5 separate regions of the Homo sapiens genome follow, and regions 1, 3, 4 and 5 are each linked to region 2. The links are contacts of gene promoters, found by promoter capture Hi-C in human tissues and cell types (Jung and others, 2019). All regions are on one chromosome and are shown on one strand. Each heading gives the region's core, a stretch centred on a gene start or on the middle of the fragment in contact. The rest is flanking DNA. Distances are from core to core; before and after follow the strand shown. Region 1 overlaps TUBG2 (tubulin gamma 2). Region 2 holds the start of KCNH4 (potassium voltage-gated channel subfamily H member 4). Region 3 holds the start of KLHL11 (kelch like family member 11). Region 4 holds the start of TUBG1 (tubulin gamma 1). Region 5 holds the start of COASY (Coenzyme A synthase).

Region 1 (5,493 bases), core at 2,281-4,780, 490 kb before region 2:
GCTTCTCACGCCTGTCTCTCCCTCTTCCTGGACCCTAGGTTTGCCCCGAGTCTAGATTATTTTGGTAAGGGAGGGAGTGGTGGTGACAGGACTAAGAGACCCCTTCCAATTGAATCAACCCCTCCCAGAATCCTGGCAAGACCTCTGAGTGGTCTCCCCTCACCCTCCTCTTCTAGGTGGCTCGAGAGCTGGTGGGGCGGCTGGGCTTGGCCCGGAGCCGCAACGCATTCGCGCTGTACGAGCAGCGAGGGGCCCAGGAGCGAGCCCTGGCTGGGGGGACCCTCGTGGCCGACGTGCTCACCAGGTTTGAGAAGTAAATGTCCAGCCCCAGCCCTGCTCTCTATTAGCCCATCCACTTCTCAGCTGAGGTCAGTCTCTAAGCGGACATTATCCAGCGCTTGCCCCTGGCCCTGCGCTGTGGTGTTCGCTGGTTTACAGACGGACCTGCCCGCCGCAGGTTTGCAGTCCGACTGCAGCATCACCTCCGCTGTCGGCTCCGCCCAGGCCCCGCCCCAAACACATGGCCCCGCCCCCACCCCAAGCTGCCCTCGCCGTAGGGGTCCGGCTTCTCCCTAGCGCTTCGTCCGCTCCTCTTCTGCAGCTTGGCCGCGGAGGAAGCTGGGTTGGAGGACTCGCCCGACTCCGGGTGGAGACTATGTCTGCGTCTTCACGGACCTCTGCACCCTGAGGGGCTGTCCCCAGACGGTCACGAACTGCCTTTCCTCTTTGAGCAGGTGAGGCTCTCCGGCGTTCACGCCTCCAAACAGACCCCCAAGCCTGAACCCCTGGTTTTCTAGGCCGTCTCATTTCATCACTATGGCAGCCCCGCGGGAGGCTTGACTGGAACCTAGACCTGCTCAGATTCCGCGAGGCGTTTTCGCGACGGTTCCGCCGCCGCTCGTACACTGACGCCGGGTGCCTCCCCTGCAGGCTCACGCTCTGCTGCTGCGGGGCCGGCCGCCCCCACCCGACGACACGCTGCGCGCCCTGGCGGCGCTGCGCCTGCAGAGCCTGCAGCGGGACTTCTCTCCGCGGGTGCCCCTGCCCCGCCTGGACCGCCTGCTCCCGCCCCCGGCCCCGCCGCGCGAAGACCCGCCCCGCCCGACCCCCAGGCCGCCCCCTTCCGCTGCCCTGCTGGCCGGGGCGCTCTGGAGCCCGGGCCTGGCCAAGAGGCGGGCGGAGCGGGCCCGGCGCGGCGGGGCCGGCCGCACTGCGGGAAGCATTGCCCGCGAGGGAGGAGGCGGCGCCGGCACGGCAGCTGCCGTGCTGGGCGGCTGGAAGCGGCTACGGGGCATGGGCCGAGCTGAGGCCATGGCCGCCTACCTGGCCCTGGCGGCGCAGTGTCCGGGGTTCGGCGCTGCTCGGTATGACGTTCTGGAGCTGAGCACGGTGAGGGGGAGAAGGGAGAAGGGGACTCTGGCGGCCCAAGCCCCACACCTTTGCCCCAGAGCCACAGGTCCCACGGAGTGTCACGTAATTCCCCACATCCAGAACAGCTACCCATCTCAAACCCCAGGAGTCACCAGCCCTTGGGCCCTCACATCCCTGGAGCCTCAGCCCCCTCCACACACGTGCTGTGAATCATAGGGGGATCAGGATACTCCTGCTCACAGACACCCATCTCCCCCTACCAAAAATAACGCTGGGCTCCTCCTTCCACCCTGACTCTGCCTCTCTGTCTGCAGGAGCCTGGTCGGGGTGCTCCACAGAAGCTGTGCCTGGGCTTGGGAGCCAAGGCCATGTCCCTCTCCCGGCCAGGGGAGACGGAGCCCATCCACAGTGTCAGCTATGGCCATGTGGCCGCCTGCCAGCTAATGGGCCCCCACACCCTGGCCTTGAGGGTGGGAGAGAGCCAGCTCCTCCTGCAGAGCCCCCAGGTGAGTGAGAAGAGGAGTTGTGGGAGGAGGAGAGAAGGGAAGCGATGTCAGGAAGCATTTACAGAACACCAAACCTGGGCCAGGTAGAGCTCTAAGCACTGGGGATCCAGCAGTGATCACAGACAAGCTGAAGGAGCTTACACTAGAGTGGAGTCAGACAATAAACAAGGAATCCCAGGCTATGAAGACAGTGAGAAATGCTACAAAGGAAAGAGTGATGTGACAGGAAGCCAGGGAAGGGTTCTCAAAAAGGGTGCCATTTAAGCTAGCCAGGGAAGACCTGGGAGAACAGCATTCCAGGTAGAAAGAATTGCAAGGTGGCCGGGTGCAGTGGCTCATGCCTGTAATCCCAGCACTTTGGGAGGCCGAGGCGGGCAGATCACGAGGTCAGGAGATCGAGACCATCCTGACCAACATGGCGAAACCCCATCTCTACTAAAAATACAAATTAGCTGGGGCTGGTGGCGCACACCTATAGTCCCAGCTACTCGGGAAGCTGAGGTAGGAGAATTGCTTGAACCCGGCAGGCGGAGGTTGCAGTGAGCCGAGGCACTTCAGCCTGGCAACAGAGCAAGACTCCGTCTCAACAACAACAACAACAACAACAACAAAAAAAAATGTTAGAAGAGCAGAAAGAACCAAGTATAACTGGCACATAGAAATGAAGGAGAGAAGCCGGCCGCGGTGGCTCACGCCTGTAATCCCAGCACTTTGGGAGGCCGAGATGGGCGGATCATGAGGTCAGGAGATCGAGACCATCTTGGCTAACACGGTGAAACCCTGTTTCTACTAAAAATACAAAAAATTAGCCGGGCGTGTTGGCGGGCGCCTGTAGTCCCAGCTACTCAGGAGGCTGAGGCAGGAGAATGGTGTGAACCCAGGAGGCGGAGCTTGCAGTGAGCTGAGATCGCGCCACTGCACTCCAACCTGGGGGACACAGCGAGACTCCGTCTCAAAAAACAAAAAAGAAATGAAGGAGAGAGTGGTGATAAGGAAGGAAAGGTTGCAGGGCCAGAGCACGTAGGACCCTGGTGGGGAAGCTGGAGCCCTAGAGCCTGGAGAAAGGATGAGAAAAAGAAGAGAACCTGGCAGCCCCTGTTGCACACTGACCTCTGCCCTCTCTTAGGTGGAAGAGATCATGCAGCTGGTGAATGCCTACTTGGCCAACCCCTCCCCCGAGAGGCCCTGCAGCAGCTCTTCTCCTCCATGCCAAGACCTGCCAGACACCTCCCCTCCCAGCCAGCGCCCGGGCCTGGACGAGCCCCAGGGACAGTCTGGCTGCTTGGGGCAGCTGCAGGACTGAGCCTGCCAAGAGGTCACGACTTCCCTCCTGCCTGCAGCCTGGGCCAGGACTGCTCTGAGATTTGAGGGAAACATGGACCCTTTTGGCCCTGCAGGGACAGGGCACATCCCACACCCAAGGGCTACAATGGGTGTGGGTAATTTTCTAGTTTGTTTCTTAATTTATTTGTAGAAGAGAAGCAAAAAAAAAAAAAAAGTTTCTTATTTACACAAACCCTTCCTGTGGGAGTGTTATTCAGTGGGACAAGTTGGAACCCCATAACGCAGAGCCCCGCCTCTGGGGATGCCCACACCCTGGGCTTTTACCAGGCTCTGGGGGAAGTCTGGACACCACAGCGCTTCACCCTCCCCCTCCTTGACCTTCCAGACTTAACCTCCTCCTGGCCAGTGTGCTGCCACAGGTTTGTGGGTGGAGCAGGCAAACAGGCCTCATTGGAAGCTGGCAGTTACTCACCCTCCCTTCTCCACTGAGTGGCATACAGATGGCCTCCTGGAATCCCTGAGGCTGGAGGGCAGTGAGTCATCAGATCTGGCACTGCCCATTTCTTACTCGTTGTCCACCTCTGGGCCCATCATTGGTGTGCCTAATGCTTTGGGCCTAGAATGGAGAGAAGCTTGGGGCAGATAACAAACCCACGAATTTCTCTGGCACAGAAAAGTAACTCAGGATGTGCTCAGCCCTACTCTTGAATTCTGTTTCTACTTATCAGGTTGGGTTGAACTGGATTGAGTTCCTGGAACTCTCATGGCCCTGGGCACTGGGAATCTGGAACCTTGGCTCTCCTGGCCTGCTCAGAATGTAGTGTGCCCTCCTTCAGTAGACCCCACCTCCTCTGCCCTGAGTGGAAGAGGTTGGGGCAACATTGACCCTCACTGGGGCAAAGCTTAGGCGCTGAGGAGACAGCAAACCTCAGTAAAGCTCTGTAATCTTGAGACAAGGGCTGACTCTAGTAATACTAAACAGCCTAGTTCAAGGTGAGGGATGCCAATGGAAACAGTGAACACACTAAGATTTGGACTAAGTGATAAGACGTTGGAGGAGGTGAAGGCCACCCTACTGTCAGATGCCTAGAAACTGGACCCCTTCACCACCCCCCCGTATTCACAGATCAAGCCCTGGCTATACTGACAACCAAGCTTTATTACTTTATTAGAGCTGAACAAGCATATTAAAAGTTAGGGCATGGAAGGGAGGAAGCAGGACCAGCTCACGGGCTGGAGATGAACCAAGAAGGGTTGTCCATGAGGTGAAGCTGGGTCAGAGGGAGCAGGCATGGTCGAGGCTGTGGTTACCATCTAGAAGGAGAAGGAGTAGTGGGGAGGGAAATCACTGCTCCTGGGTGCCCCAGGAAATGTAGTCTGGCTGGGTGGCCGCATGGTACTCATCAATGAGCTCCTGAACAACCTCCCTAGACCTGTCCATCTCATCAAAGTTGTCCTTGAACATGTCCTCCTTACGGAACTGCTCGAGGAAGGCATCCCGCTTCCGCAGCTTGTCAAACTGCTGGCAGGAACTTTCAAAGAGCTGAAAGAGATGAAAATCTCCAAAATGCGAGCCAGGGGGTTAGGAGTGAACTTGGGGAAGATGATGAAGGTGGCCAGTGGAACAGACTCTTCTAAGAAGAATAGAAACCTAGACTCACCGAGGAGATGCTGGTGTGGTTGGCCATCATGAGCCCGCTGACCCGGTGGGCCGAGGGCAGGTAGGGAGACTTCCTCGACAGGGCCACCTGGATGCTGGCGGGGCCCCACGGGATGAAGTTGGCCAACTTCCGTTCCCGGATCCTCTGCAGGCTCTTGTGGACCTGGGGTGGGCATAGGAGCAGTGGAGGTGGCCTCTCCTCTACCCCTGCAGGTCCAGGGCGCGGGATGAAGGGGCCTCCCCTACCTGGGTGGGGTCCACCTCTCCCTGGATGATGTTGAGGATGGCGATGTAGCAGTGGTTGGTCTGGCGGTCTCGGCCTGTGGACACCATCACGTTCTTGGGCTGCAGCAGCCGCCTCATGACATCCAGGACCGTGGTCTTCCTCACGCTGGCCACCTGATGGGACAGTGAGACAGGGACCCGGCCAGCGCTCAGGGCACAGTCCCTTTGGCTTCTCTTTGGCAGAAGCCAAAGGCAGAGGGAGGGTGGAGAGAAAGTCAGCAAGAAAGTCGCCCGCTCTGTGCCAGTCCCTGAGCGCAGTGCCTTGGGGCCTGCAAAGGGCAGCTCCTGGGGCAGTGGGGAAGAGAGAAAGGCTGGGGCAGGGCCTGCTGGGCCCAGGGCCAGCCTGGCCTGGGACACTGAAGGCTGCTCTTACTGACTGGTCTGTAG
Region 2 (5,488 bases), core at 2,379-4,878:
TCACTCTGCCCAGGGGGTCTCAAAAGGCTTCCTGGGGGAGATGCTCTGCTGGGTCTTGAAGGAGGAGCAGGGAAAGTAGGCCGATACCAGCAAGGGCGCAAAGCAAGGAGAACTAAGTGACAGCCAGAAAGGAGTGCAGGCTTGGAGGGGGCGCGGAGCCAGAGGGGCAGGTCCTGGGCGTGGGAGCTGGTGGCGGGCGCCGTGGGAAGACCCCCCCAGCGCCCTGTCTCCGTCTCCCTAGGTCTCCTGGGCCGCCGTGACGCTACTGCTGCTGCTGCTGCTGCTGCCGCCCGCGCTGTTGTCGTCCGGGGCGGCTGCACAGCCCCTGCCCGACTGCTGTCGTCAAAAGACTTGCTCTTGCCGCCTCTACGAGCTGCTGCACGGCGCGGGCAATCACGCGGCCGGCATCCTCACGCTGGGCAAGCGGAGGTCCGGGCCCCCGGGCCTCCAGGGTCGGCTGCAGCGCCTCCTGCAGGCCAGCGGCAACCACGCCGCGGGCATCCTGACCATGGGCCGCCGCGCAGGCGCAGAGCCAGCGCCGCGCCCCTGCCTCGGGCGCCGCTGTTCCGCCCCGGCCGCCGCCTCCGTCGCGCCCGGAGGACAGTCCGGGATCTGAGTCGTTCTTCGGGCCCTGTCCTGGCCCAGGCCTCTGCCCTCTGCCCACCCAGCGTCAGCCCCCAGAAAAAAGGCAATAAAGACGAGTCTCCATTCGTGTGACTGGTCTCTGTTCCTGTGCGGTCGCGTCCTGCCCATCCGGGGTGGCAAAGCGTCTTGCGGAGGACAGCTGGGCCTGGAAGCCCGGCTGTCGGGCACCAGCCTTAGCTTTTGCGTGGTTGAATCGGAAACACTCTTGGTTGGGGAGTTCCCAGTGCAAGGCCCTGGGGCACAGAGAGAACTGCACAGGTGCATGCTTGGATCGGGCCATGCGGGACTCCTACGATGCTCTGCTAGGCATTCTGTAGCGGGGACTTTACCCAGAGACGCGGAAGGGGAAGGAAAGCAAGAAAGGTTGCAGCGGTCGGGCGCGGTGCTCACGCCTGTAATCCCAGCACTTTGGGAGGCCAAAGCAGGAGGATCCCTTGAAGCAAGGAGTTCGAGACGAGCCTAGGCAACATAGTGAGTGAGACATCTCTCCAAAAAGTTTTTTTAATTAGCGGGGTATGGTGGGCGAGAGGATTGCTTGAGCCCAGGAGTTTGAGTTTGAGCCATAATTGGGCCACTGCACTCCAGCCTGGGCAACAGAAGGAGGCACTGTCAAAAAAAAAAAAAAAAGAAAGAAAAAGAAAAAAGAAAAGAAAGAAAGGAAAGAAAGGAAGGAAGGAAGGAAGGAAGGAAGGAAGGAAGGAAGGAAGGAAGGCAGGCAAGCTGCATAGAGCAGCAGAATCCAGCTAGGAAGGGGTGGGAGTCAATCCTGCTGAAAAGGCAGGGAATTTGAACTTCAACAATGAGTCATCCAGAATGGCTGCATCATGGGGTATAGGGTGTGGGGAGTGGAGAGGCTCAGGAAGGGACACAGTTACAGTCAGTGCAGCACAGCTCGCAAAGGCTCTCACAAATCATCGGGCTTTGCACTTTATCTTGTAGGTAACAGAGTCATGGGACATTCTTAAGCAGGGGCAGTACAAGATTTTACTGCAACTCCAGCCAAAGACACCTGTTACTGGTGTTCCCAAAATCCATATGTTGAAGTCCGTACCCGTGGCACTTCAGAATGTGGCTGTATTTGGAAATAAGGTCCTTCCAGATGCAATTAGTTAAGATGAGGTCATACTAGAGTAGGGTGGGCCTCTAATCCACTGTGACTGGCGTCCTTATAAAAAAGGGAATTGGAACACAGAAACACACACAGGGAGAACCCATGTGAACATGAAGGTAGAGATTGGCTCCTACAAGCCAAGGAACACCAAAAATTGCCAGCACCCCCACCCCCAGAAGATAGGGGAGAGGCATGCAACAGATTCTCCCTCATAGCCTTCAGAAGGAACCAACGCTCTTCACCTGACCTTGCTTGGACTTCTAGCATCCAGAACTGTGAGACAATAGGTTTCTGTTGTTTGAGCCACTCACTTTGTGGTACTTTGTTATGGCAGTCCTAGGAAACTAATATAACATCCAAAAGTAGAGACACAGGCTAGGCTCCGTGGCTCATGCCTGTAATCCCAGCACTTTGGGAGGCTGAGGCGGGCGGATCACTTGAGGTCAGGAGTTCAAGACCAGCCTGGCAAACATGGCGAAACCCCATCTCTACTAAAAATACAAAAATTAGCCGGGCATTGTAATGCACGCCTGTGATCCCAGCTACTAAGGAGGCTGAGGCGGGAGAATTGCTTGAACCCAGGAGGCAGAGGTTGCAGTGAGCTGAGGTCATGCCACTGCACTCCAGCCTGGGCAACAGAGCAAGACTCCGTCTCAAAAACAACAAGAACAAGAACAACAAGAACAACAACAACAACAAAAGTAGAGACACAGAAAAATGTGGCACTTCTTAGCAATCTAACATCCCAGATAATACCTAGCTCAGAGGGTGGGGAGAATTTAGCCTGCCCTCCTTGCCCATAGGGTTCCCACTTTCACTGCTTCAGCTGTTTTGTCGTGGGAAGCAGCCACCCTCAGCCACAGAACTCAGCTGCCTCAATTTTCTGCATAGGTAGTGAGAAAGTCCTGTGTCTAGTCTCACTTTGGTCCCTCTTGCTGCTGTACTGGTTCCATCTTGGAGAAGTTAGAGGTCAAAGTTCACATGTGCATCCTTGGAGATTTGCAAGCCATGACTCTGCCCACCTCGAAACTATCTTTTTCAGAGGTAGTTTCTCCCAAACTTGCCTCCAGCCTCTCTTCCACTTGAAGGGCAGCAGAGAGGAGGATTAAGACAGTAGGAAGAGGGAAAACAGGCAGGCAACTGCCCTTCAAGACACTTATTTTGTACCAAAGACATGCATTATGGTATTACATTCTCACGGTAACTGCATCAGGTAAGAATTATCAGCTCCATTTTACAGATGAGGAAAGTGGGCTTGGAGAGGATATCACACGATTGGTGTCTAGAGCTGGGACTCTACCTGGTGGACTCCAAAGCTCTTTTCATTCCACCATGCTGTGTCTCAGTAGGCAGAGTTCGCCAGGGTGTCTTGGGAAAACTGAGGCAGGAGGTAAGAATGGTGCTTTCTAGAGTTGGGGTTTCAAGCCTTCCCATTGTCCATTCTCTACCAGCAAACTAGCCTCTTAACCCTTGCTGTCTCACGCTGGAGCTACTGGCCTGTGGGTGCTGCGAAATATGTCAACTCCAGTAGGCGGCACTGTGAACCAGACACCAGCCCAGCGTGGACGCCGCGCGGGAAAACCCGCGAGGTGGAGCCACAAGGAGCAGCCAGGGAACCACGTGTGGAGGCGTGGCCAGCCTGGAAGAGGGCGGGTCTGTTATTCAAGCCCCGCCCATCATTTCAGGCCTCCCCTCCCGGTGGGCGTGCCCCGAATTCTCTCCCCGAGAGACACGCGTGGGCCGCTCCCCTCTGGGAGGAGGGCTGCCCAGAGGGGTGCGGGTGTCGCTAGCGGCCCCTCCCCGTGTGGGGCCACGTGGCGGGTGCGGGCCGAGCCCGAGGGGAAGAACCTGGCCCGTGGGGAGGTGGGGGGGACCGAAACGGCGCTGAGCCGAGCCGAGAGCTACGGGGTTCGGAGCAGAGGCAGCGGCAGCGGCAGCGGCAGTAAGAGGGAGGGGAGGAGGCAGGAGGGCGCATGGGGCGCCCCGGCCCCTCCGACAGCGCGCCCCCTCCGGCCCGGCCGCGCTGAAAGCTCCCCAGCGCCGCGCCTTGAACCCACGCCCCGGGGCCATGCCGGTCATGAAGGGGTTGCTGGCCCCGCAAAACACCTTCCTGGACACCATCGCCACCCGTTTTGACGGAACGCGTGAGTGGGACGGAGGTCGGGGCTTGAGGTTCGAGCTGGGGGGCAAGTATCCTCGGGGCCGTCTCGGATCTCCTGGACATGGTGAGACCCGAGGCGAGGGGAGAGAATGGAGGTGCGGGTCTAGGAACTCCCAAAGCCGCGGTGCAGGAACAGGGCGGGGAGTGCCCTGCGAGGGGAGGAGGGGAAAGGGCCGAGAGCACGGGGGCCAAGGTTAGGGGGTGTGACTCGAGGCAGAAGAGGCTCTTTGTGCGGCAGAGCGGAGGAGGGTCCTTCGGAGCCGCCCACTCTCGGGCAGAGCTGTGCTGGGGGCGTGTATGGGGGTATCCGAGACACAGAAGTGGGGCAAAGTGGCCGGGCATTCTGGGGTCTACTCACAGACTCCAGCTCCCACTACCTCCAGAAAAAAAGGAGAAAAGATCAGACTTCAGCAGGACCTAGTTTGGATTGAGGTCGCGCGCCCCCAAATCGTGGGGCGTCAGTGTCTAAGGTGGGTGAGGCAGGAGGAGGGGAGCGGTCTGTGCGACGGTGGGAACTCCCAGCTCGCCCAACGTAGCTTGGGTTTCAGGTTCAGCACCTTGGACAGCCACATCACTCCTCCCCCGCCTCTTCTCCCGCCATTCCCTCTTCCCACTCTGGAACCCAGAGATTCCCCGCCCTCACCTCCCCCAACCCCGCCATTCCCTCGGGAACCCTGGCCGGGATCTGGATGGTGGGGGAGCGGTACCCGAGGGCGGAAACTGAGCCGCCGGGCCCTACCCTCTTCCCCACCACCTTGTTTCCATAGCGCCCATCACCGGGGCAACAGGCCCTGGGATGGAAGAAGGAGGCTGTGCCCAGAGCCCAGTGCCTCCCAGGCACCTTCAGTGTCCCCATCAGCCTCCCTGCCCCCAGACAGTCATCCCTCCTAGAGCACCAGGACTGGTTGTGTCACAGGCCCCATCTCTTAGCTGAGTCTCTGTCCCTGGATGGCCCACAGGAGTCCCCCTGGCCTCCCACCCATTGGAGCTGGAGGGAGACAGCTCGGGTTCTGCTGCTGGGGGTTGCTGGAGCTATACGCTCAATGCCCTCTCCCATTAGACTTTGAGCAGTGGGGCAGATCCCCTGAAAGCAGCTACAAGAATGCTAAAAAGTGGACCTTCTCTGGAAGGCAGGGAAGGAAGACAGCACTCATCACTGTCTGCCCCCACACTAAGGAGATCTGTGAGTTTGGATAATCTCTGCCTTTTGGTTTCCTATCAATAAATGGGTGTGGTGTCATCAGAATCTCTGCCCTGCTTACTCTGTAATAGGAAGAAAGCCAAGTGAATGTGGGGAAAAAATTTCACCTTCTCAGAGTAGCACTTACCATGTGCTAGGACTTGTTCTCCCCAAGTTAACTCATGTAACTCTCACAACGACCATGTGAGGAAGGCCTATTATGCCCTACTTTGCAAATAAGGAAAGCTTAGGCACAGAAGAGGTCATCAACTTGCCCAAGGTCACACAGTTAGTAAGTGGCAGTGGAGGGTTGCAGGAGCCCAGGCTCTTACTCACCATGCTATACTGCCTTCTACAGTGACAGCTCACCAGTTGGAAGGCAGGGGGATGG
Region 3 (5,043 bases), core at 270-2,769, 320 kb after region 2:
AACTATATAGTAACAATGAAGGCATACTGCTGGCTCCTGGCATCCATATCCTTTGATCTGTATTCCTTTGTAACTGTACTTTTTTCCAGACAGGGTATCACTCTGTCGCCCCAGGGCTGGAGTACAGTGGCACCATCACAGCTCACTGCAGCCTCCATCTCCTGGGCTCAAGCAGTCCTCCCACTCCAGCCTCCCAAGTAGCTGGGACTACAGGAGCATGCCACCACTCCAGGCTAACTTTTGTATTTTTTGTGGAGATAAGGTTCTGCTGTATTTCCCAGGCTCTTCTGGAACTCATGGACTCAAGCAATCCATCCTCCTTGGCCTCCCAAAGTGCTGTTACAGGCGTGAGCCACTGTGCCTGGCCTGGCCTGAACTGTACTAATAGTTTCAGTATATATGGTTTTAAAAATGCTCATCTACGGTCAGGCGTGGTGGCTCATGCCTGTAATCCCAGCACTTTGGGAGGCTGAGGCGGGTGGATCACGAGGTCAGCAGATCGAGACCATCCTGGCTAACACGGTGAAACCCCGTCTCTATTAAAAATACAAAAACTTAGCCAGGCATGGTGGCGGGCGCCTGTAGTCCCAGCTACTCCGGAGGCTGAGGCAGGAGAATGGCGTGAACCCGGGAGGCGGAGGTTGCAGTGAGCCGAGACCCGCGCCACTGCACTCCAGCCTGGGCGACAGAGCGAGACTCCGTCTCAAAAAAAAAAAAAAAAAAAAAATTAGCCTGGAGTGGTGGCGGGCGCCTGTAGTCCCAGCTACTCGGGAGGCTGAGGCACAAGAATCGCTTGAACCCGGGCGGCGGAGGTTGCAATAAGCGAAGAGCGCGCCACTGCACTCCAGCCTGGGCGACAGAGCGAGACTCCGTCTCAAAAAAAAAAAAAAAAAAAAAATTAGCCTGGAGTGGTGGCGGGCGCCTGTAGTCCCAGCTACTCGGGAGGCTGAGGCACAAGAATCGCTTGAACCCGGGCAGCGGAGGTTGCAATAAGCGAAGAGCGCGCCACTGCACTCCAGCCTGGGCGACAGAGCGAGACTCCGTCTCAAAAAAAAAAAAAACAAAAAACCCAAAACAAAACAAAAACAAAAAGAAACAAAAAAAAAAACGGATAACGAGTAACTCATTCATCCCTCATCCACTTAGCTGGGGCTAGATCTTATAAAAATCCTGTATTGCCACTCAAGGCTTTAACAACAGGTGATGGTCTAAGGTGGCTTTACTCGACAAAATGACTGCAGAGAGCATGCTACCCACTAAGGAAAGGAAGCGAGCCATACTCGCACCGACGCCCTGGGGGTAGGCCTGGGGCGAAGTCTTCTGGACTGGGCGACTGTTACTGACGGACCTCACCAAGGCAGGCAGAGCTGCTGGAGGCGAGGCGGCGCTGCTGGAGGCGAGGCGGCGCTGCTGGAGGCGAGGCGGCGCTGCTGGAGGCGAGGCGGCGCATGTGCGGCCGGCGGGCGACCTGGCCCCGCCCCGCGCGCACTATTTAATCCCAGAATCCCTCTGTGTCGTACCAACAGCCGCATCGTTCCGAGGCTGTGGAGGCCGGGCGCAGCGGCGTCAAGATGGCGGCTGCGGCAGTGGCGGCGGCGGCGGCGGCGGCCGCGGCTGCATCTCTTCAGGTACTGGAGATGGAGAGCATGGAGACGGCCGCCGCCGGCTCGGCAGGACTGGCCGCCGAGGTCCGAGGCAGCGGCACGGTGGACTTCGGGCCTGGGCCGGGGATCTCTGCAATGGAGGCGAGCGGGGGCGATCCGGGCCCAGAAGCCGAGGATTTCGAGTGCAGCTCTCACTGCTCAGAGCTGTCCTGGCGGCAGAACGAGCAGCGGCGCCAGGGCCTCTTCTGCGACATTACCCTGTGCTTCGGCGGGGCTGGAGGCCGCGAGTTCCGGGCCCACCGCTCGGTACTGGCTGCCGCCACCGAGTACTTCACGCCCCTGCTCTCGGGCCAGTTTTCCGAGTCCCGCTCGGGACGGGTGGAGATGCGCAAGTGGAGCTCCGAGCCGGGGCCCGAACCCGACACAGTGGAAGCCGTAATCGAGTACATGTACACCGGGCGCATCCGCGTCAGCACGGGCAGCGTGCACGAGGTGCTGGAGTTGGCCGACAGGTAGGCGAGGGAGGCGGGAGCGCGGAGGGCGGCGGGCGCGGAGAGGGGGAGATGCTCGCTGGCGGAGGGGAGGGCAGTGCCTGCCACGGCAGCTCGCGAGTCCTGAGTGAATGCATTGGTTTCACACTCGCTGAGCGCCTGCTTGGGGGCAGCCACCGCGGTGGGCGAGGAGGATGCACCATCAGGTCCGGCGAGGGCGCCCCGCGCCCAAGGAGCTCAGATACTAGGTGATGGGACAAAAGTGATGAAAAGGAAAGTCAGTATGTGGTAACTGTTGTGCTGACGTTCAAAAGGAATGAAAGGCTAGGGATTGAATAAAGATCTTTCTGAAGAGGTGAAGTTTAGATCGACCTCTGAATGTCAAAAAATAACTGACCGTGCAAAGATGGGGAATGAATATTCCAGACAGCGCAAACGCCCTCAGGCAGGATCCAGTTTGGCTTAGAGAAGAGAATTAAAATATAGTCCAGTGAGGCTGGATCTAGTGGATGAAGGGGAGAAGGATGCGTGAGATGCGTTGGAATAAGGAGTTTGGATTTCACTAAGTGTGATAGGAAGCTGGGTAAAGAAATAGCTCATTTAAATATTTTAATATTATTCTGCCACTGTGTTAAACGGATTGTAGGGAGCAGGAATGCTCCAGAGACTGGTTAGAAGGCAGGTAATACCGTTTATAGAGATGGAGAGGCGTTTGTTTTGGCAATTATCATCTTACAGATACATTAACAAAAATGCCTATTGAGCGCCTATTACGCATCAGCTCAGATGCGGGATTCTAAGGTGCTAGGGTTTCAGCAGTGATCAAAACAGACAAAAGTCCTTTTCCTTATCGCACTTAGGTTGGTAGATGGACGGTAAATAAGTAAAATGTATAGCCTGTTGGATGATTGTTAAATGTATAGCCTGTTGGATGATTGTCATCACTGATGAAAAATAAAGCATGGGGGGAGTACATAGAAACTGCTGGGGGAGAGGAAGTGTTTTCCAAATTGGGTGGATAGAGAATGCCCTATGAAGAAGACGTTTTGCTAAGAACCGAAGGAGGTAAGGTAGACTGTGTCAGGTAGGGGACACAGGTACAGAGGCTCTGAGGTGGAGCTTGTATGTTAGAGAACAGTGGGGAGCCAGTGTGGCTGTATCAAAGGGATGCAGGATGAGAGGAACAGGAGAAGCCCCAGGATGGTAATGGGCAGGGATCCAGATCCCGTAGGGCCTTGATGGCCTGTGGAAGGACATGAGCTTTTACTCTGATTGAAATGGGAAGGTTTGGGGCAGAGGAATGATGCAGTCTGATTTGATGAATAGTGCTGTGCTGAAAAAAGGATGTGGCGGCCAGGCGCGGTGGCCCACGCCTGTAATCTCAGCACTTTGAGAGGCCGAGGTGGGTGGATGCTTGAGGTCAGGAGTTCGAGACCAGCCTGGCCAACATTGTGAAACCCCTGTCTCTACTAAACGTACAAAAATTAGCCGGGCGTGGTGGTGTGCCTGTAATCCCAGCTGTTGGGGAGGCTGAGACACAAGAATCGCTTGAGCCTGGGAGGTGGGAGGCTGAGGTTGCAGTAAGCTGAGATTGCGCCGCTCTACTCCAGCCTGGCGGACAGAACAAGACTCTGTCTCAAAAAAAAAAAAAAAAAAGAACAAAGGATGTGGCATTGGGGAGGAGGGGGCACCAAGGGCAGACGCAGAGAGACTAGTGTAGGAGGTTGTGGCAGTGGTGGTGGAGGCTTCGATTGAGGAGGGAGAAGTAAAGGTGATGAGAACTGCTCTGGTTCCAGATATATTTTGAAAGTGGATGAGATGAATTTGCTGATGGATTTGACGTGGGGTATAAGGGAAAAGACTGCTACCTTTTTGACCCAAGCAATGGGAAGGATGGAATTATTAAGATGTGGAAGATTGCAGAAGAGCCTGTTTGGGAGTAAGATCAGGAGTTTTTGGATTTGGTTAAGGAGATCCCTGGGAAGTGCATGGGAGCTAGAGATACAGATTGGGGAAAATTACCGTATAAATGGTAACTAAAGCCTTGGGGCTGGATGGTATTACTTAAGGAGTATACATAGAAAAGGGGCAGCGGGGAGAGAGTAGGCAAGACTGAGCCCTGGGGTTCTCTAGAATGTAAAATAGCCGGCTGGGCGAAGTGGCTCACGCCTGTAATCTCAGCACTTTGAGAGGCCGAGGCAGATGGATCACTTGACCAGCCTGGCCAACATGATGAAACCCCATCTCCACTAAAAATACAAAAATTAGGCCGGGCGCGGTGGCTCACGCCAGTAATCCTAGCACTTTGGGAGGCCGAGGTGGGCAGATCACGAGGTCAGGAGATCGAGACTATCCTAGCTAACATGATGAAACCCCGTCTCTACTAAAAATACAAAAAAAAAAAAAATTAGCCAGGCATGGTGGCGGGTGCCTGTAGTCCCAGGTACTCAGGAGGCTGAGGCAGGAGAATGGCGTGAACCCAGGAGGCAGAGGTTGCAGTGAGCTGAGGTCGTGCCACTGCACTCCAGCCTAGGCAACAGAGTGAGACTCCATCTCAAAAAAAAAAATAAATAAATACAAAAATACAAAAATTAGCAGGGCGTGGTGGCAGGTGCCTGTAATCCCAACTACTCAGGAGGCTGAGGCAGGAGAATTGCTTGAACCCGGGAGGTGGAGATTGCAGTGAGCTGAGATTACGCCACTGCACCCCAGCCTGGGCAACAGAGTGAGAGACTGGATCTCAAAAAAAAAAAAGAATCTTAAAGAGGAGACTGATCTCATGGAAACGTAGAAAAGAAGGATATCAAGGAGGGAGTAGCCAGTCGTGTCAACTCTGTCAACCCATTAGTGATGGTTGCAGGTCAGAGATGCCATTGACAAGAGCTGTTAAGCCTTGCTTTATAAAGAGGATCAGAAACGTGTAAATGTTTTGGGGGACAATCCCACCA
Region 4 (5,253 bases), core at 1,799-4,298, 430 kb before region 2:
CACACTCCCTCGACTTTCATCCAGGGCTCAGGTTCTAGGCTCCAGTTCCCACTACTGGGAGTGTGATGGGGTTCTCAGTCATTGTAACTTCATTTTCCTCTCTATAGGAGGGAATATAAGAACTCTTTCCTGTTCCAGCAAATATGGAGTTATATCTGCTGGGTCCCCTAGTCATTTAGGAAGCCAAGTTGGAGACCTTTCCTAATCCCCAAACACAAACTTACCTGTCATTCAGCCGTTCTAAGAGGTAGGAACCCAGTCCAGAGCCTGTCCCCCCAGCAATGGAGTGACACAGCACAAAGCCCTGCATGGGGAAGGGGCAGTCAGTGTACAGGTATCTAGTGGCAGGATGTCAAACTAGACCCATCTCATAGTTTTTTAGGACTCCCATTTTCCCGAGCCCTTGCTTCCCATCCAGTCCCCTCACTTATACAGCTTAGGCAACTGCCTTGTTTCTGGCAAGGCCTGATAGCTTCTGTCCAGTGCAAAGGGTACATGAGTGGGTCTTGTTCCTAACAGGTCGCTTCTAGAGGGTGCTGCCAAGCCTTGCCCATGTCGGCTCCTACCAGCATTCCTGGGACACTTACCTCTAGACTGTCACTACCATCTGCCTCCCGGTCTATGATGTCAAAAATGTCCTCATGGATCTTTTCTCCCTGTACAGACATAGGGGAGGGTCAGAGTGGGACAGAACCATGGGAGGTCTCTGACCTCAGAAAAGCCACCCTCAATTCTCCTTATAACACCCAGAAGTCCTTTTATGGAGCATAGCTACCTGCTTTTATCTACATTGAGAGGCAGTACGGTGCAGTGGTTACAAGAAAGCACTCTACACCCAGACTACCTGGGTTCATACATTAGCTCTATTTTTTTTTGCGATGGAGTCTCTCTCTTTCTCCCAGGCTGGAGTGCAGTGGCGCGATCTTGGCTCATGGCAACCTCCGTCTCCTGGGTTCAAGCGATTCTCCTGCCTCAGCCTCCCCAGTAGCTGGGATTATAGGCGCATGCCACCATGCCCAGCTATTTTTTGTATTTTTAGTAGAATCAGAGTTTCACCATGTTGGCTAGGCTGGTCTTGAACTCCTGACCTCAGGTGATCTGCCTGCCTTGGCCTCCCAAAGTGCTAGGATTACAGGCGTGAGCCACCACGCCTGGCCCATTAACTCTACTTCTATGTAGCTCTGGGCAGCTTATTTAATTGCTCTATGCCTCAGTTTCCTCATCTGTACAATGAAGGTAATAATACAGGTCCATATACCCTTATCTAACAGTGTTGGGGCCAGTTATGTTTTGGAATTCAAAATATTTCAGATTTTAGAAAGGTATTATGGTATATATACTATATATTAAATAAAATTCCAGTGGGAATTTTTATTTAATCAGAAGCACGTTAATCAAATATATTAGTATTTCTGTAATAAAAGGCATCACTAATGACAGTAAGTTGGATAGAAACTATAGGGCCGGGCATGGCGGTTCACGCCTGCAATCCCAGCACTTTGGGAGGCCGAGGCAGGTGGATCACGAGGTCAGGAGATCAAGACCACCCTGGCTAACACAGTAAAACCCCGTCTCTACTAAAAATACAAAAATTAGCCAGGCGTGATGGCAAGCACCTGTAATCCCAGCTACTCGGGAGGCTGAGGCAGGAGAATCGCTTGAACCCGGGCAGCAGAGGTTGCAGTGAGCTGAGAGCGTGCCACTGCACTCCAGCCTGGGCGACAGAGTGAGACTCCGTCTCAAAAAAAATAAATAAATAAAAATTAAAAAAAAGAAACTATAAAACAGCCTGTCTTCATTGAAATTTGTTTTTGCTGATAAACTAGTTATGAAATGTCCTTTGGTTTCATGGCTTTCTGGATCCTGGAAAGGCAGATAAGGGACTGTGGACCTGTAGTACTTACTTCTAGGGTTGTTGGGAGATTTAGAAAAATTAATATATGTAAAGCACTTAGAATGACCTGGCACACTGCATTAGCTAGTGTAGGCGCTTGACAATATTACATAGTCCACTCCCTGCAGCCAGGTCTCTCCCTCCAGCATTCATACATCCCTGATCCGGTTTTCCCTCTCTTCGGGACGTCATAGAGCCTGTCCCTACCCAGCGAGTTGTGGGCCCTGCCAGGGAATAGGAAACGACCTGGGAGAATCCGCTGGCCCAGTTGTTGCCAGCTCCTCCTCCATGTTCCGACAGGTAGATGTTCTCTGGGTTGTAGAGCTTGGCATAGGGGGAGTTGAGGATGGAGTGGATCACCCGGGGTTCCAAGTCCAGCAGCACGGCCCGGGGGATGTAGTGCTCATCGTCTGCCTGTCAAGGGGAGTCCAGGAGGGGGCCCAATCAGCTAGGGCGGCCCAAGTCCGAAGTCCTCCCAACTCTGGCTCCCTCCGGCCCTCCCTCCTCAAGCCAGCCGCCTGGCCCTACTGCCCAGCGGGGTTCCCAGTACCAGGCCACTCCCTTCCCTTCCGCCCCCTTGGGCAACTGCCGCCCCCGGCCAAGTCGCTGGGGGCACCTGGTAGAAAAAGACGTCCTTGCGGTCAGTGCCCTCGGTGGCGAACTCCTCCACGATGCCCTCGGGGCTGATACCATGCTCGGCGCACAGCTGTTTCCAGAACTCGAACCCAACTGGGGGGAAGGGGCGGGCAGGGGAGAAAGAAGATATCTAGGTCCGGGCAGGTTCCAATCAGGAGCCGGGGGACTGGGCGCCTGCGTCCAGGGATAAGAAGTCAAGCCGCAGGACTCTCCCGTGTCTGAGGAAAGGACTGTACGCCAGGGACTGGGCAGGGGAGGGCCCCTCGGGGTTGGGCAAGTGGACACTGGGTCAGGGATGTCTCGCCTTTCAGAGAACTACGATTCTGGCAAGGACAGATGGAGTCCAGGATCCCACAGCGAGATCCCATTGACCCTAAGGAACCTGGCTAGCTGAGGGGCCGGAGTTTCGCTCACTCTGATTGCCGCACTGGCCCAACTGTAGGGTGATGATTTCCCTCGGCATCGCTCCTCAGGCACCGGCGTTGCAGCCGCTCCCGCCCGCAACGGCGCCGCACGCCAGCCCGCTCGCCGCAAGACGCAGGCGCCAAACAACCAGCTCCACCCACGAACTTCCTCCGCTCCAATGAGAATCGAGTTCTGGCAATGAATGGCACGTCTTTAAGCACTGGCCTTCGTTCATGCAGATTGCGCGTGCGCGGCTCCGGATGCGGCTCGGCGCCTCCGGATCCGGCTCCGCGCCTCAGTGAGGGCGGGGTACGGCGTCCTCCCTCCCCTCTGGGTGGGCGCCTGCTTGGGCCTGCGCGCAAGCGCGCTGTGGTGCGAAGCCACCTCCCCCGCCGAATCGCGCATCTGCGCAGTTGCTGTTATTGTGACTTGTCGGGCCACGGCCCCGGATGTTGTGGCTGCCGCGGGGAGATGGCTGAGGCCGAAGGGGTTCCCACGACCCCAGGCCCGGCTTCGGGGTCGACTTTCAGGGGCCGCCGAGATGTGTCAGGCTCCTGGGAGCGGGACCAGCAGGTTGAGGCGGCGCAGCGGGCCCTGGTGGAGGTGCTGGGGCCTTACGAGCCTCTGCTGAGTCGGGTGCAGGCAGCCCTGGTGTGGGAGCGGCCAGCTAGGAGCGCTCTGTGGTGCCTGGGGCTGAACGCGGCTTTCTGGTGAGAGAACTGGACCCTCGGAAACCCTCCGAGTCCCGAATTCGTTGGTTCCTCTAGGGCTCTACTTCTCGCCTGCCCTGTTTTCTTCGCTGCACTGGCTCCTTCCTGTACTTGCCTAATTTTGCCTCACCTCCTTCCACTCCATCCCGCCTGCAGGCTTCGGCACCCTAGTTCTTCCCAGGGCCGTCCACCCATCTTCTCTGCCTTACCTGTGCCCGCACCCCCGCCCCGCACATCTGGCGGGAGCTTCTGGTAACATCTTGAGCCGCTCAAGAGTGAGCGAGGGCTCCTCTTTTGAGCCCGACAAAGCTGCGTCCCTTTAAAGCCATCACTTCCTTTCTCTTGTCTGCTCAAGTGCAAGTTCTAGATTGTTTCCAGAGGTTTTAGTAGTTTATTGTTGGAGTAGAGGCGTGAAGTCTTGCAAAGGTATCCATAGGTGTGATTATAAAACAAGCTTGAGCGATTCGCATGAATTAGCATGTTATATATCTAGGAAGGAAGTTTATGAAGTCTAAGCGTCAGTGTGAGCCCCCAAAGCTGAAAATTGAAAGAAAATTACAAGCTTTTAAAGAACAGTTAGGAAATGATGACGGAGATTACACGCGTGTCAAAGCCACCTGTGATTGTAACTCCTCCCTGTTCCAAGGAATTAGAGAGGCATCCTTAGCCATGGTTTATAGGCAAGGAAATTGATGTCTAATACTGTGTGTGAGTTTTCCTGAGCTGGAAAAGTAGCACTGTAAATATGCTTTATTTGTGTGTGTCATGCTCTGTGAAAATGGAACTGCTGCTTCTCTCAGTTGTCATCACCTGAAGTGGACCTAGGACTTCATAGGATCTACCAACCATAATTTTGGATTTATTTGTAATGGAGGAGGTTCCAAGGGAACTGACTTATAGGGGGCTTTCTGCTGCTGAATGGATTAAGACTATTCTGGATAAGCCTGAAACAACAAAATATGTGTGTTTTTTAATTGTGTTTTTGCTAAAAATAGCTTTCCCCTTAAAATTTGTTTTAAAATCAAAACATTTATTATCCTTTATCTGAAAGATTTTCAGTGAGCTGAAGCAGAACAAATAATTCCAAGTTCATTGACCCGAAAACAGTGTTCAGCTATTAAGCTAATCCTCTCCCAGTTTGAAAGAGACCCAGTTAAAGGTGTCACAGTAGTCTCTGGCATTTGTGGCTTCCAGAGCCTTTAGCAAACTCGATGGTAAACTTTTCCTACCACGTTCTTCATTTATTTTTGGTAGTGCTTTTTCCCTTTTTTTTTTTTTTAAGACAGAGTTTCACTCTTATTGCCCAGGCTGGAGTGCAATGGCGTGATCTCGGCTCACTGCAACCTCCGCCTCCCAGATTCAAGCATTTCTCCTGCCTCAGCCCCCCAAGTAGCTGGGATTACAGGCATGAACCACCACAACCGGCTAATTTTGTATTTTTTTAGTAGAGATGGGGTTTCTCCATGTTGGTCAGGCTGGTCTCGAACTCCCGAGGTCAGGTGATCTGCCTGCCTCGGCCTCCCAAAGTGCTGGGATTACAGGCGTGAGCCACTGCGCCTGGCCTTTTTTTTTTTTTTTTTTTTTTTGAGACAAGGTCTTGCTCTATCA
Region 5 (4,860 bases), core at 296-2,795, 380 kb before region 2:
CAGATGGAAAATTCCAAGACCCATGCCATGCTTGAGTTTCCTCCTCCTGTCTGTGGCACTGCTACCTGCAGCTCACTCACCCATTCATTCCCAGTGTCTCATTAGGGTGTATCACCTGGAAAACTTGCTAAAATGCAGATCCCTTTGCTTCACATTTGGGGTATTCTGATTGAGTGGTGACTGGACCACATGCTGAGAAAGCTGTTCATTTGACAAAATGGCCTTAGCACCAATTGAGTGTCAACCACTGTGACATTTGGGAAGGGTGGGAAGTAATGAATGGCCCTACCCTTCCTTGATCTCGGCATAAGGGTCGGGGGTGGGGAGATTTGGGGATCCTCCACCCTAGTCCAGGGTCCCTCTTACTCACTCTTCAACAGATCTTTGTCTGCTACTCCCACCACAAGCTGCTCCTGGGCCAGGATGCACGCGACACTGAGCAACACCTTGTGGGCGTTGTGCAGGCGGTCAAACGTGCCACCGACAGCGCCACGGTAGTAGCCACGCACCGGCTGCTTTGGAGACCCGGCCACGGGGGAAGCTGGCCTGATCGTGGAGGGTAAGGGGACATCCAGGGGCTCCACGGGCACTTCTCCTATCCCATAATCGGAGTATAGCAGCACCGAGGCCAGTCGCGGACAACAGCTGTAACAGCTGGTGGCGTAACGCACTAGCTGCTGTTTGACCGGGTTGTACTGGCTTCCATCCAGGGTCTGGAAATCTGTCAACACGACTTCTGGCGGGTGGGCGAGATTCTGGACTGAGGTGGGCAGGGGAGGGAGAAAGGTGCTCTTGGTTCGGATATTGGTCAGTAGGATTCTGACGTCCAAGTGCCTGTGGACGTCGGCGCCAGCATAGAGGTGCGTGATGAAATCAAGAACCTCAAACGTGGCCTGCACGGGGCTGGACTGGGGCTGAGCCGGGCCCTCCAGGCTCATGCCCGGCTGCAGGTGAACATAGAGTGTGTGATTCACCAGCCGGGCCGCCGAGGTCAGGATGGAGGCCAGGCGAGGGGCTAGGGAGGCCAGCGGCGTCGTCAGCACCAGGAGACCCGACCGGAATACGGCCATGCTGCCCAGGCCTGCGGACAGTCAGGGAGACGAGGCGACGGTGACTGAAGGGCCTGCGGCCGAGGCAGAGGCCTGTATGGGACCTTGGACCCCAGAGAAGGAGGCCTGGAGCAGGGACGGGGTTTCAGTGCTGACCGACAGGAGCCGGGGGAGGGGACGGGGCCTGGTAGACGGCGCCTCGGGGCTGTGCTCTAAGCCTTGGTGTCCTCATTTCTCAGACGGGGCGGTGACTTCGCTGAACTGAGTCGAAATCCTGGGAGGGGGAAACTGGACAGGAACCCTTGTCACAGGGCTGGGGATCCAAAAATCCTGGGCCCTCTTGCTAAGCTGCACCAGGGTCTTCAAGGAATCGAAGAGGGAGGCTAAAGGGGGACGCTAAAGCTCACGTCGGCCCCCTACTCACTGAAACCTCAAGGCTTGGGTTCCACTTGCACCACCGCGGAGGCTTCCCTGGCTGCAACCCGGAAGCACTAACGGAGAAACCGCAACTCGGAACTACGGAAACGGAGGAAGGTCAAACGTCTCGACTTCGCTTCAGCGCGGGATTCTCGCGAGATTTCCAGTGGCATGGGCTGTGTCCTGCTGATGGGGTGGGGCTGATCCCGAAGGCTCTGGGAGTGGGTGAAGCCTTGATGCCGATCGGACCCCCGCTGGGACCGGGCGGAGAAAGGCAAGGCAGGTTTCAAAGCCCATTTCACAGATTCCCTTCTGGCCTGATGAGGAGAGATTAGTTTCAGCCAGGCCACCCAAGAGGCATCGGCAAAGCCAGAACTAACACCCAGATTTCCTTCATTCCAGGGACAGAGGTGGGGAATCACAGGGCTGCGCTGTATTAGCCCTCCTAGTACCCTCTCAGTCCGAGGATTCTCACATGGGAGGCTACTGGACAGGTCTGTCCACGTACCCATTTCACAGATGGAAAAACTGAGGCCTTGTGTGTACCTGGCTGCTGTAGGAGGCTCTCGCACCACCCAGATCCTCTGATGCGCTTGTTTGCGGGGTCTCTGTGGACAGGAGAAAAAGGCAAAGGCTGATTGGGCGCGGTGGCTCACGCCTGTAATCCCAGCACTTTGGGATGCCGAGGTGGGCAGAGCATCTGAGGTCGGGAGTTCGAGACCAACCTGACCAATATGGAGAAACCTTGTCTCTACTAAAAATACAAAATTAGACGAGCGTGGTGGCGCATGGCTGTAATCCCAGCTACTCAGGAGGCTGAGGCAGGAGAATCGCCTGAACCCGTGGGCGGAGGTCGCGGTGAGCCAAGATTGTGCCATTGCACTCCAACCTGGGCAACAAGAGCGAAACTCCCGGCCGGGCGCGGTGGCTGACGCCTGTAATCCCAGCACTTTGGGAGGCCGAGGCGGGCGGATCACGAGGTCAGGAGATCGAGACCATCCTGGCTAACACGGTGAAACCCCGTCTCTACTAAAAATACAAAAAAAAATTAGCCGGGCATGGTGGCAGACGCCTGTAGTCCCAGCTACTCGGGAGGCTGAGGCAGGAGAATGGCGTGAACCCGGGAGGAAGAGCTTGCAGTGAGCCGAGATCGCACCACTACACTCCAGCCTGGGTGACAGAGTGAGACTCCGTCTCAAAAAAAAAAAAAAAAAAAAAAAAGCGAAACTCCCTCTGGAAAAAAAAAAAGAAAAAAGAAAAAGGCAAAGGCTGGATACCTAGTGTGGGAGATTTACTGCGAAGCTAATGGGCGCTTGAAAGGCTGAGTGTGGAGGGGAAGCCAGGTTGCTATTAGAATACATCTCAGGTAAGTTGTGCATGGAGATCAAAAGGGAGAGAAGCCAGTCTCCAAGATTCCAGTAATGTGCCGTGGTATCCGAAACTTAAAAAAAAAAACAAAACTCACTTTTATATGTAATTTTGTGTTTATCTTTTGTATTCTTGAAGACGGTCTCCAAAAGCAAATAAGCCCCCAGCCCCACAAAACCTGGGCTTATGATGGAGAAAAGGAGATGCTATTTTAGATAAGGTGATTCAGGAAAACAGCAAAGACCTGGAGGAAGAGATACAGTCAAGGAGGGAAGAGTTGTAGAGCCACAAAGGTATTAAGGGACCAGGCTTCTCACAGGAGACATGTTAGATTTAAAGATAGGGTCTGATTTGAAGACACAAACAGCAAAGGCTGCCAGAGAATGTCCCAAGACATCTGGACACACAGTCTGACACACCACATACAGAGTCATTTTTATTGAGTAAATGTGTATTTTACTGCCTCCCACAGGGATGGACCAGTGAACAAAACAATGTCCCTGCCATCCTGGGGTATAGAGTACTGTGTGTCTTGGGGTTGCAGACAGGAATCATGCCACCATAAATAAATCTATAATACATGGCCAGGCGCGGTGGCTCACGCCTGTAATCCCAGCACTTTGGGAAGCTGAGGCAGGCAGATCACCTGAGGTCAGGAGTTCAAGACTAGCCTGGCCAACATAGTGAAACCCCGTCTCTACTAAAAATACAAAAAATTAGCTGGGTGTGGTGGCGGTACTTGTGATTCCAGCTACTCAGGAGGCTGAGGCAGGAGAATCGCTTGAACCTGGGAGGCAGAGATTGCAATGAGCCGAGATCACGCCACTGCACTCCAGCCTGGGTGACAGAGAGACTCCGTCTCCAAAAAAAATAAAAATTAAATTAAAAAACCCAAATCCATAATATATCTACTGGTGATAAAGGATAAGAACAAAAGTAAAGCAGAGTAAGGGAGCTATAGTGGAGAAGCTGAGAGGCTATTTTAGATAAGGTGGTTCAGGAAAACAGCAAAAATCTGAAGGAAGACATAGAATCAGAGATCAGGGAATGTGACCCAGAGGGGGCCAAGTACAAAGGCCCTGAGGCAGGAGGGCTGAACTGGGTGATGTAGATGGAGATTGGTGGGAGATGAGATCAGAAAGGGGGCAGGAACCAGATCAAAGAAGGTCTTGGAGAGCTTTGGGGAGAACCTTGGTGCTATGGTTCGAATGTCCCTGCCACAACTCATGTTGAAATAAAAAATTCAATTGCTACTGTCTTAAGAGATGGGACTTTTTTTCTCTTTGAGACAGGGTCTCACTCTTGTCCCCCAGGCTGGAGTGCAGTGGGTTGATCATGGCTCACAGCAGCCTCAACTGCCTGGGCTCAAGCAGTCCTCTGCCTTGGCCTCCTGAGCAGCTGGAACTACAGATGTGTGCCACCACACCTGGCTAATTAAAAAAAAAATTTTTTTTTTCATACAGACAGGATCTTGCTGTGTTGCCTGGGCTGGTTTCCAACTCCTGAACTCAAGCAGTCCTCCCACTTCAGCCTCCCAAAGTGTTGGGATTACAGGCCTGAGCCACTGCACTGGGCAGGGTGGGGCCTTTAAGAGGTAATTAGGTCAGCTGGGCGAGGTGGCTCACTCCTGTAATCTCAGCACTTTGGGAAGCCAAAGTGGTGGATCTCAGGTGGATCACCTGAGATCAGGAGTTTGCGACCAGCCCAACCAACGTGGTGAAACCCCGTCTCTACTAAAAGTACAAAAATTAGCGGGGTGTGGTGGCATGCGCCTAAAATCCCAGCTTCTCAAGAGGCCGAGGCAGGAGAAAAAAAAAAAAGATAATTAGATCATGAGGGCTCTGCCCTCTTGAATAGATAAATACTGTTATCATGGGAGTGGCTCCTGATGGATGGACGACATTTGGCCCAATTTCGTGTCTCTCATTTGCTTCCACCTTCTGCCCTTCCATCCTGGGACAGCCCTTTGCCAGATACTGCATGAAGTTCTTGCACTTTCCAGCCCCTAAAACTGTGAAGCTCTGAG

The links. The method cuts DNA at HindIII sites, captures the fragments that hold promoters and counts their contacts. A contact is called where the count stands out against the background at its distance.
Region 1: a contact is called between a fragment that was not itself captured here and the fragment with the promoter of KCNH4 in region 2, in 1 of the 25 tissues and cell types used here (IMR-90 fibroblasts).
Region 3: the fragment with the promoter of KLHL11 here is called in contact with the fragment with the promoter of KCNH4 in region 2 in 3 of the 25 tissues and cell types used here (adrenal gland, pancreas and stomach).
Region 4: a contact is called between the fragment with the promoter of TUBG1 here and the fragment with the promoter of KCNH4 in region 2, in 4 of the 25 tissues and cell types used here (aorta, dorsolateral prefrontal cortex, mesenchymal stem cells and 1 more).
Region 5: a contact is called between the fragment with the promoter of COASY here and the fragment with the promoter of KCNH4 in region 2, in 1 of the 25 tissues and cell types used here (mesenchymal stem cells).

What each region holds. Positions count from the first base shown.
Region 1 is chr17:42,665,814-42,671,306 of GRCh38, reverse strand. It overlaps TUBG2 (tubulin gamma 2), which reads right to left. Exons shown (of 11, transcript NM_016437.3): 8 at 5,480-5,493; 9 at 5,068-5,220; 10 at 4,823-4,984; 11 at 4,301-4,704. The coding sequence ends at 4,507. It overlaps PLEKHH3 (pleckstrin homology, MyTH4 and FERM domain containing H3), which reads left to right. Exons shown (of 13, transcript NM_024927.5): 9 at 177-313; 10 at 602-734; 11 at 931-1,389; 12 at 1,686-1,877; 13 at 3,004-3,393. The coding sequence ends at 3,180. Among named protein-coding and RNA genes, the nearest start is that of PLEKHH3, 8.4 kb to the left of the region's middle. RefSeq lists enhancers at 667-746, 2,502-3,077. The HindIII fragment of the contact is 5,317 bases long and covers 872-5,493 here.
Region 2 is chr17:42,179,282-42,184,769 of GRCh38, reverse strand. KCNH4 (potassium voltage-gated channel subfamily H member 4) reads left to right here and starts at 3,628. Exons shown (of 17, transcript NM_012285.3): 1 at 3,628-3,900. The coding sequence starts at 3,825. It overlaps HCRT (hypocretin neuropeptide precursor), which reads left to right. Exons shown (of 2, transcript NM_001524.1): 2 at 242-710. The coding sequence ends at 616. RefSeq lists enhancers at 1-543, 1,045-1,104, 4,668-5,235 and silencers at 395-614, 3,197-3,472, 3,479-3,718. The HindIII fragment of the contact is 13,187 bases long and covers 1-5,488 here.
Region 3 is chr17:41,861,899-41,866,941 of GRCh38, reverse strand. It overlaps KLHL11 (kelch like family member 11), which reads left to right and starts at 1,519. Exons shown (of 2, transcript NM_018143.3): 1 at 1,519-2,116. The coding sequence starts at 1,572. It overlaps ACLY (ATP citrate lyase), which reads left to right. Exons shown (of 29, transcript NM_001096.3): 29 at 1-24. RefSeq lists enhancers at 334-834, 835-1,335, 3,079-3,588 and a silencer at 1,369-1,558. The HindIII fragment of the contact is 18,491 bases long and covers 1-5,043 here.
Region 4 is chr17:42,607,478-42,612,730 of GRCh38, reverse strand. It overlaps TUBG1 (tubulin gamma 1), which reads right to left and starts at 3,048. Exons shown (of 11, transcript NM_001070.5): 1 at 2,945-3,048; 2 at 2,511-2,623; 3 at 2,141-2,308; 4 at 588-656; 5 at 225-304. The coding sequence starts at 2,993. RETREG3 (reticulophagy regulator family member 3) reads left to right here and starts at 3,357. Exons shown (of 9, transcript NM_178126.4): 1 at 3,357-3,645. The coding sequence starts at 3,407. RefSeq lists an enhancer at 3,366-3,475. The HindIII fragment of the contact is 7,237 bases long and covers 1-5,253 here.
Region 5 is chr17:42,558,833-42,563,692 of GRCh38, reverse strand. It overlaps COASY (Coenzyme A synthase), which reads right to left and starts at 1,545. Exons shown (of 9, transcript NM_025233.7): 1 at 371-1,545. The coding sequence starts at 1,070. RefSeq lists enhancers at 1,020-1,209, 1,220-1,469. The HindIII fragment of the contact is 9,955 bases long and covers 1-4,860 here.